Regions from separate parts of the Homo sapiens genome. Here region 1 is linked to region 2. Evidence: promoter capture Hi-C in human tissues and cell types (Jung and others, 2019). All regions are on one chromosome and are shown on one strand. The core of a region is centred on a gene start or on the middle of the fragment in contact, and the rest is flanking DNA. Distances in the headings are between cores, read along the strand shown. Region 1 has its middle 33 kb from the start of FAM218A. Region 2 holds the start of TRIM61 (tripartite motif containing 61).

Region 1 (4,358 bases), core at 1,086-3,585, 54 kb after region 2:
TACAAAAAAAAATTTGCCCGGTGTGGTGGCGGGTGCCTGTAATCCCAGCTACTCTGGAGGCTGAGGGAGGAGAATTACTTGAACCCGAGAGGTGGAGGTTGCAGTGAGCTGAGATCGTGCCACTGCATTCCAGCCTCGGTGAGCAAGTGAGACTCTGTCTCAAAAAAAAAAAAAAAAAAAATCAAATGGAAATGCTAGCAATGAAAACCACAGAAAAGAGTTGAAGATGCCTTCAATGGGCTCATTAGTACCCTCAACACACTGAGGGAAATAATCAGTGAACTTGAAGATAGATAAACAAACTACCCAAACTGAAATATAAAGTGAAAAGAACAAAAAACAAAAACTAAGAACTGTGGGACAGTATCAAACAGTGTCATTTATGGATACTTGGAATCTCAGAAAGAAGAAATCTCATCACTAGGAAATGAAGGCAAAAATAAATAAAAATTTAAAAAGAAAAACCGAGGAGATATTCAAAAAAATCATGGCCAAGAATTTAGTTACAGACACTAAAACTCCAGAACCAAGAAGCCCAGAGCATACCAAGCATGATGACTATCAAAACACACAAACCAAAACAAGAAAAAAATGACAACATATCTCCAAACATATCAATATATCAATCAAATTCAAACTGCTGAAAATTAAAATCAAAAACACAATTTTGAAGGCAGCCCAAGTAAAAAACTACATTACTGCCTTGCATACATTAACTATGGGAATATGTTCTGAGAAGTACATCATGGGATGATTTCATCATTCTGTGAACATCATAGAGTATGTGTACACAAACCTAGATAGTAATTTTGTAGCTTATTATGCCTGTAAGCTATATGGTACAGCCGAATGCTCCTAGGCTAGTAAACCTGTACAGCAAGTTACTGTGCTGAATACTATAGAAATTGTAACACAAAGGCAACTATTTTTGTATCTAGGTATACGTAACCACAGAAAATTTCCATAAAAATGCAGGTTTATAATCTTATAGGACCACTGTCATGTATGTGGTCAGTGGTTGAAACACTGTTATGCAGTGCATGACCACTGACAAAGGAAGGAGGATAAGAATTACAACAGACCTCTCATCAGAAAATGTGAAATCCAGGACACAATAGTTACTTCTGTAAATAAAAAAAATCTTGCCAACTCACAATTCTATAACCGATTAGCACATTTCTCAAAAGCAATGGAGAAATACTTAGAAAAATAAAATGGAGGGAATTTGTTGCCATCAAGCAGACACTAAGAGGAATGTTAAAGTACTTCAGGCCAAAGGAATATTATAGATGTCAGAAACTTGTGTTTACACAAAGAAATAAAGTGCATAAAATAAAGGTAATTGCTCTAAAAGATAACTAGCTGTTTAAAACAATAATAAGTGTTTTTCCAGCATATGTAAAAGTATTGTATGAATACAAGACCACAAAGAATCAGTGAGAATTGGGAATACACTATTACAAGGTTCTTATACTGAAAAGGAAACAGTATAATTTCATTTAAAGGAGGCCTCAAATTTTTTTAAAATGTATACTGTAAACCCCTGGGAGAACCACTAAAAAATGTTTTTAAAAGATGTATACAATAAGGCCAGGCACGGTGGCTCATGCCTATAATCCCAGCACTTTGGGAGGCTGAGGTGGGTGGATGACGAGGTCAAGAGCGAGATCATCCTGGCCAACATGGTGAAACCCAGTTTCTATTAAAAGTACAAAAATTAGGCTGGATGTGGTGACTCATGCCTGTAATCCCAGCACTTTGGGCAGCCGAGGCAGACAGATCATGAGGTCAAGAGATCAAGACCATCCTGGCCAACATGGTGAAACCTCGTCTCTACTAAAAATACAAAAATTAGCTGGGCATGGTGGCATGCGCCTGTAGTCCCAGCTACTTGGGAGGCTGAGGCAGGAGAATCGTTTGAACCTGGGAGGTGGAGGTTGCAGCGAGCCGAGATTGCACCACTGCACTCCAGCCTGGTGACAGAGCGAGACTCCAACTCAAAAAAAAAAAAAAAAAAAAAAAAATTAGCCGGGCATGGTGGCATGTGCCTGTAGTCCCAGCTACTCAGGAGGCTGAGGCAGGAGAATCGCTTGAACTCGGGAGGCGGAAGTTGCAATGAGTCGATATTGTGCTACTGCACTCCAGCCTGGTGACACAGTGAGACTCTGTCTCAAAAAATAAATAAATAAAATAAAAAGTTAATAGAAGAGATTAAAATGTAATCATAAAACATGCTTGATGAAACCCAGAGAAGCAAGGCATGGTGATGTGCACCTGTGGTCCCAGCTGTCCTGGAGGCTGAGGCAGGAGGATCTCCTGAGCCCAGGAGTTTGGGGATGCAGTGGGCTATGATTGTGCCTGTGAATAGCTATTGAATGCTAGCCTGGACAATATAGCCAGACCCTGTCTTAATCCTAGCACTTTTGAAGTCCAAGGTGGGCGGATCACTTGGGGCCAGGAGTTTTGAATCCAACCTGGGCAACATTAGTTAAGATCTTGTCTCCAATAAAAACAAAAAACAGAGAAGTCAAAATCAGCCTTCTTTTCAAGTTTCTGAGTCACTCACCAAGATAAACCACATCATAGGCTATGAAACATACCTTCACACATTTAAAGAATAGAAATAATACAAAATTAAAGTTGATATTGTAGAAAAATCTCTGAGAAATCCACAAACATGTGAAAATTAGTACCCTTCTAAATACCCCTTAGGTCAAAGAGTAAGTCTCAGGAAAATTAAATATTTGGAGCAAAATACAAATACAAATACAAATACAATATTTCAATGTTGGTGTAACATAGCTAAAGCAGTATTTACAGGGAAATTTATAGCATTAAATTTATAACATATTAGAAAAGAAGATCTAAAATCAGCAACTTAACCCTTTACCTTAAGAAACTAGACAGAACAAAAGCAAATGTAAAGCTTTTCAATGTAAAGCATGCAGAAGGACAAAAATAAAAATTAGAGCAGAAATCAATAAAATTGAAATTGGAAACAAGACAGAAAATCAACAAAACCAAAGCTGATTCTTTGAAAAGATAAAGTTAGAGGCAATATATTGATAACTGCCACAAACTGTCCAACCTAGTATGGGATTTCAAATGCATGCTCTTTTCAGTATCTCAGTGCCTTAGTTTCGGCAATGAGTAAGGGATAGAACAATTAGGAAGAAGGCTGATTATGTAGGGGAAATGGGGAAAAGAATATTATAGTGATGATTTCTTGGGGCATAAGGTTGGTAGTGGAATATTAAGTAGCCAGAAACTGGCAAGCGGAGTGCAGAGTAGGGATGCTGGAAATACACAATTATATTTTTCGTTTATGAAACTCTTATCACTTACAAGAACGATTCTGTCTTTAAACTATGATTGTTTTCTTGTCCAAGGAAGCCACTGTATTTACAGATCCTCAAATATTTCAGTCAATCCATGTATCTCTAATAGCACATTTCACCCCAATGTCATCCTATTTTTGATGTCTACTATAATTCATTATTGTAATTTAACGAGATGTGTAATTTTCTCTGGATTGGTGTAAGATTAAGATAACTGGCCAGGTGTGGTGGCTCACGGCTATAATTCCAGCAATTTGGAGGCTGAGGCAGGTGGATCACTTGAGGTCAGGAGTTCAAGACCAGCCTGACCAACATGGTGAAACCCTGTCTCTACTAAAAAATACAAAAGTTGACCATGTGTGGTGGCATGCGTCTGTAATTCCAGCTACTTGGGAGGCTGAGGTGCGAGAATTGCTTGAACCCAGGAGGCAGAGGCTGCAGTTAGCAGAGATCACGCCACTGCACTCCAGCCTGGGCGACAGAGCTAGACTCCATCTCAAAAAAATAAAAATAACTGAAGCATTACAATAGTACTTGGAGCTTAAATTTATCCATTATAATGCCAGCTGACCTTGGGTACGAGTTCCTGACCAAATTTGTGTAGCTGACTAAATGTCATGCTTATAGAACATTTGTTTATGTTAATGTATTTCATAATACATTGTAGATATCATAACTATATATTTCTCAATTTAAAAGATTAAAATACGTAAGAGTAAATTGTTTCAAAACTATAATTTCAGACCCTGAAAAACTTCTGATTAAATATCAGGATAGACTAAAGACATTTTCAGAGGTCAGGTGTGGTGGCTCATGCCTGTAATCCCAGCACTTTGGGAAGCTGAGGCGGGTGGATCACAAGGTCAGGAGATCGAGACCATCCTGGCTAACATGATGAAACCCTGACTCTACTGAAAATACAAAAAAATTAGCCAGGTGTGGTGGTGGGCACCTGTAGTCCCAGCTACTCGGGAGGCTGAGGCAGGAGAATGGCGTGAACCTGGGAGCCAGAGCTTGCAG
Region 2 (4,781 bases), core at 304-2,803:
TCACTGGCTTTTCTTTGCATTTGATAAAAACCAATATCCTCAATTTTGCCTAAAGGGCCTTGCAGCATTCATTCTCGCCTATCTCATCAGCCTCACAAAGCCATTTTCCATATTTTATACTTCTTGCAATTTCCCACGTTGTAGTGCCAACCAAATGACCTCTTTCAGTTCCTTTTGTACCAAGTTTTTAAAAATTATCATCTCTAGGCAGGGCGCGGTGGCTCACGCCTGTACTCCTAGCACTTTGGGAGGCCGAGGCGGGCGGATCACGAGGTCAGGAAATCGACACCATCCTGGCTAACACGGTGAAACCCCGTCTCCACTAAAAATACAAAAAATTAGCTGGGCGTGGTGGCAGGCACCTGTAGTCCCAGCTACTCTGGAGGCTGAGGCAGGAGAATGGCGTGAACCCGGGAGGCGGAGCTTGCAGTGAGCCGAGATCACGCAACTGCACTCCAGCCTGGGCCACAGAGCGAGACTCCGTCTCAAAAAAAAAATAAAAATAAAAATAAAATTATCATTTCTGGCTGGGTGAGGTGGCTCACGCCTGTAATCCTGGCACTTTTGGGAGGCCGAGGCGGGCGGATTGCCTGATCTCAGGAGTTCGAATCCAGCCTGGGCAACACGATGAAACCCCGTCTCTACTAAAAATACAACAACAAAAAATTAGCCAGGCGTGGCGGCGTGCGCCTATAGACCCAGCTACTCGGGAGACAGAGGCAGGAGAATTGCTTGAAACTGGGAGGCAGAGGTTGCAGAGAGCCAAGATCGCGCCACTGCACTCCAGCCTGGGCGAAAGAGAGATTCCGTCTCTTATTAAAAGAAAAAAAAATCATTTCTAAAATATTTTGTAGACGCAGGGTCTGGCAATGTTACCTAGGCTTGTCCTGAACTCCTGGCCTCAAGCGATCCTCCCACCTCTGCCTCTGAAAGTGCTTGGATTACAGGTGTGAGCCACTATGCCCGGCCTGTACTAAATTCTTTAAAGTTGAGAGGCTCCACATTGGCTCTTCTTCCAGCCTTGAAGACTTTGACCGTGGAATTGATCCAACGAATGCCTCTTCATCCCTCAAATTCCGCCTGAAATGTCACTTCCTCAGGTAAACCTGAGTTCATAGGGTAGGGCACAATCCCACAGGGTGGGAGAGATCCACCCACTCACCCACTGAGATGCAAACTAATCCAAAGGGGCTTCTATTCCTCTTTCAAGCATAGGGAGTGCTCAACGACTCCACCCTGCGACCCCAGGCTACGGGAAGCAGTTGACCCTGCAAAGCTCTCCACTCCCTCACCATCTGGGAGGGGACGCTGTGCTGGTGAAGCTTTTAAAACCAACTTGCAGACTTACTTGGACCCTCAAGTTTACTCATATACATAAAAAGTGATAAGAATCCGAAAAGACAGCCAGGGGAATTAAATGCCAGTTGGGGCCAACGGGGCCCTGATCACGGAAGAGGGCGCCCCCAGCTCTCAATCTTCACACAATCCCTGCACCCAGGGTCACAGAGCATGCGCAGGTCCTTCCCGCCCACTTCCGGGGCAACTGCCAACCACCGCGCAGGCTGAGCCCCAGGCAGGAAGCAGCCCACTTGGTGGGGTTGGGGTATGAGTCCTTCCTCGCGGGGGCTCGGTGGGTCCTGAGTATTCTTTGGCCGGATTTGCTGATCCGTCTGCTCCAGGTGAGCTGGGAAGGCCGCAGGAAAGGCCCAGAAGGGCCTCGCCAGGAGGCTTAACTGGACAGGGGCTTCTTGAACATTCTCTGTGCCTAAACCTCCGGGTCGCTGCCTGCCCACGACTGGATCTCCTTAGTGTCTGGCGTAGCTCTTGTGAAAAATTCAGGATTGTAGAGTTAGAATGGGGGTGTTGAGCCTGTATCAATTAAGCTTTAAATGTTATGATCTGAATTAGGGTTTATGAAGTGGCTATGTTATCTTCAAAGAGTTAATGTACGTGTTTGGGAGTGGGGGTTGGGGAGTTAAGGGAGCGAAGTGGTAGCTGCCAGTTGAGAACCCACCAGCCTACGTCGTCTGCACCCTCGACCTATGTAAGCATCCTGTAATCCTCACAAGGGTCTTACAGGTACGAATTATCATTTCAACTTTGTAGATGAGGCGCTTTAGGTGCAGGCATGTTAAGAATCAGCCAGTATGATGATGGTTGAAACTGAGAGCTTGGAATCTACCACAGGTTTTATTTATTCCTCAAACAAGCTAGAGACGTATTGCCACCAAGAAGCTTGCTGCCTGGTGAGGGGTTTTTACAGTTAGGTAAAGAATTGCAGAGTAGCTGTAAAATCACATAACTGTGATATGTGACATGATGGGAGCTAGGCAAAAAACTTGGACTAGATCTTAATGGATCTTTTTGCTTTGTTTTCCTTAAAGCATAGGTTCACAAAGTACAGTCCGCAGGCCAGCAGCATCATCTGGGAACTTAGGAAAAAACCAGCCCTACTGAGTCAGAAACTGGGGATGTGGCCCAGGCAATCTTTTACCAAGACCTCCAGGTGATTATAATGCAAGGTAAGATTTGAGAATTGCTTCCATAAAGTAATAAAGGACCAGTGGAATGTTTTCAGTTGAAATATGAAAGGATTCTGTTTGTATTTGAAAAGGTCAGTTTAGCTACAGACTTCAGAAATTGGAGGCACCATTGTGTATCTAGGAGAGAGACATAAGTGGTTTAAACTAGGGTGGTGACTGTGCCTACAGAGCTGTTCTGTTCACTTAATGTCCTGATTTTAAATAGTAGAGAAGACTGCTTTGGGTGTATGCTTGGGGAAAGGAGGGCACAATGATACCTGGAGTGAGTCCTCTTGTGTCCTTTATGAAGGGGTGGCCTGCCCCTCCACACCTGTGGGTATTTCTAGTCGGGTGGGACGAGAGACTGAGAAAAGAAATAAGACAGAGACAAAGTATAGAGAAACAACAGTGGGCCCAGGGGACCGGCGCTCAGCATACCAAGGACCTGCACCGGCACCGGCCTCTGAGTTCCCTCAGTTTTTATTGATTATTATTTTCATTATTTCAGCAAAAAGGAATGTAGTAGGAGAGCAGGGTTATAATAAGGAGAAGGTCAGCAACAAACATGTGAGCAATAGAATCTATGTCATAATTAAGTTCAAGGGAAAGTACTATGACTGGACGTGCACGTAAGCCAGATTTATGTTTCTCTCCACCCAAACATCTCAGCGGAGTAAAGAATAACAAGTCAGCATTACTGCAAACATGTCTCGCCTCCCACCATAGGGCGGTTTTTCTCCTATTTCAGAATTGAACAAAGGTACAATCAGGTTTTATACCAAGACATTCAGTTCCCAGGGGCAGGCAGCAGACCGTGGCCTTCCTCCATCTCAACTGCAAGAGGCTTTCCTCTTTTACTAATTCACCTCAGCACAGACCCTTTACGGGTGTCAGGCTGGGGACAGTCAGGTCTTTCTCATCCCACGAGGCCATATTTCAGACTATCACATGGGGAGAAACCTTGGACAATACCCCGCTTTCAAGGGCAGAGGTCCCTGTGGCTTTCCGCAGTGCATTGTGCCCCTGGTTTATTGAGACTAGAGAATGGCGATGACTTTTACCAAGCATACTGCTTGTAAACATTTTGTTAACAAGGCACGTCCTGCACAGCCCTAGATCCCTTAAACCTTGATTTTATACAACACATGTTTTTGTGAGCTCCAGGTTGAGTCAAAGTGGCTGGGGCAAAGCTACAAATTAACAACATCTCAGCAAAGCAATTGTTTAAAGTACAGGTCTTTTTCAAAATAGAGTCTCTTACGTCTTCCCTTTCTGCATAGACACACAGTGACAGTCTGATCTCTTTCTTTTCCCTGCACTTTGCACTGTGCTAGAGTCCTTTTTTGTATATGTTTTCTTAAAAGTACATTTTTTCTTCTGATTTTACCATTTTTTGCAATGATGCTCTGCAGTTTACTAACTATGTGACATTGGGCAAGATTCTTTTTTTTTTTTTTAAGATGGAGTTTTCCTCTTTTCACCCAGGCTGGAGTGCAATGGCGCCATCTCAGCTCACTGCAACCTCTGCCCCCTGGTTTGAGCCATTCTCCTGCCTTAGCTTCCCAAGTAGCTGGGACTACAGGCGCGCCACCATGCCCGGCTAATTTTTGCATTTTTAGTAGAGACAGGGTTTCACCATGTTGTCCAGGCTGGTCTCGAACACTTGACCTAAGGTAATCTGCCTGCCTTGGCCTCCCAAAGTGCTGGGATTACAAGTGTGAGCCACCGTGCGTGGCTGGGCAAGATTCTTAAAACTTTTTCAGGCTCAATTTTTCCAATCTCTGAGCACCCTATGCAACCTCACTCCCATTCCCATGCACTTTCTAACTTTCTTGTTCTGCTCAACAGTACCCATTTGAAAGTATTAAGCAAGTATTGGGAGTCACCATAGCCACGCTTAGTGTGGGCAGGTGGGAAGAGTGGTTTGTAAGAGACAGTATTCTTTTTATTTCTTTTCTTTCTTTTCCTTTTGTAGAGATGGGATTTTGCCATGTTGCTCAGGCTGGTCTTGAACTCTTGGGCTCAAGCGATCCACCCAGCTTGGCCTCCCAAAGTTCTGGGATTACAGCCCTGAAGCCACGACTCCCGGCCATTATTCTATGTTTTCTGTAGTGTTGTGTTAGAATTTTTCACAAGTTAAATGTACTCTCATCCCTGGATATACAATATACACAGGGCATTGGTTCCAGGGCACCCGAAGATACCAAAATCCATGAATGCTCAAGACCAGTGGATGCAGGTTCTGCATCCCAGGAATAC

The links. The method cuts DNA at HindIII sites, captures the fragments that hold promoters and counts their contacts. A contact is called where the count stands out against the background at its distance.
Region 1: a contact is called between a fragment that was not itself captured here and the fragment with the promoter of TRIM61 in region 2, in 2 of the 25 tissues and cell types used here (adrenal gland and lymphoblastoid cells).

Annotation. Positions count from the first base shown.
Region 1 is chr4:164,921,528-164,925,885 of GRCh38, reverse strand. No RefSeq gene overlaps it. Among named protein-coding and RNA genes, the nearest start is that of FAM218A, 33 kb to the left of the region's middle. The HindIII fragment of the contact is 7,148 bases long and covers 1-4,358 here.
Region 2 is chr4:164,974,429-164,979,209 of GRCh38, reverse strand. TRIM61 (tripartite motif containing 61) reads left to right here and starts at 1,553. Exons shown (of 3, transcript NM_001414904.1): 1 at 1,553-1,679; 2 at 2,385-2,522. RefSeq lists enhancers at 1,275-1,334, 1,365-1,444. The HindIII fragment of the contact is 6,036 bases long and covers 1-2,059 here.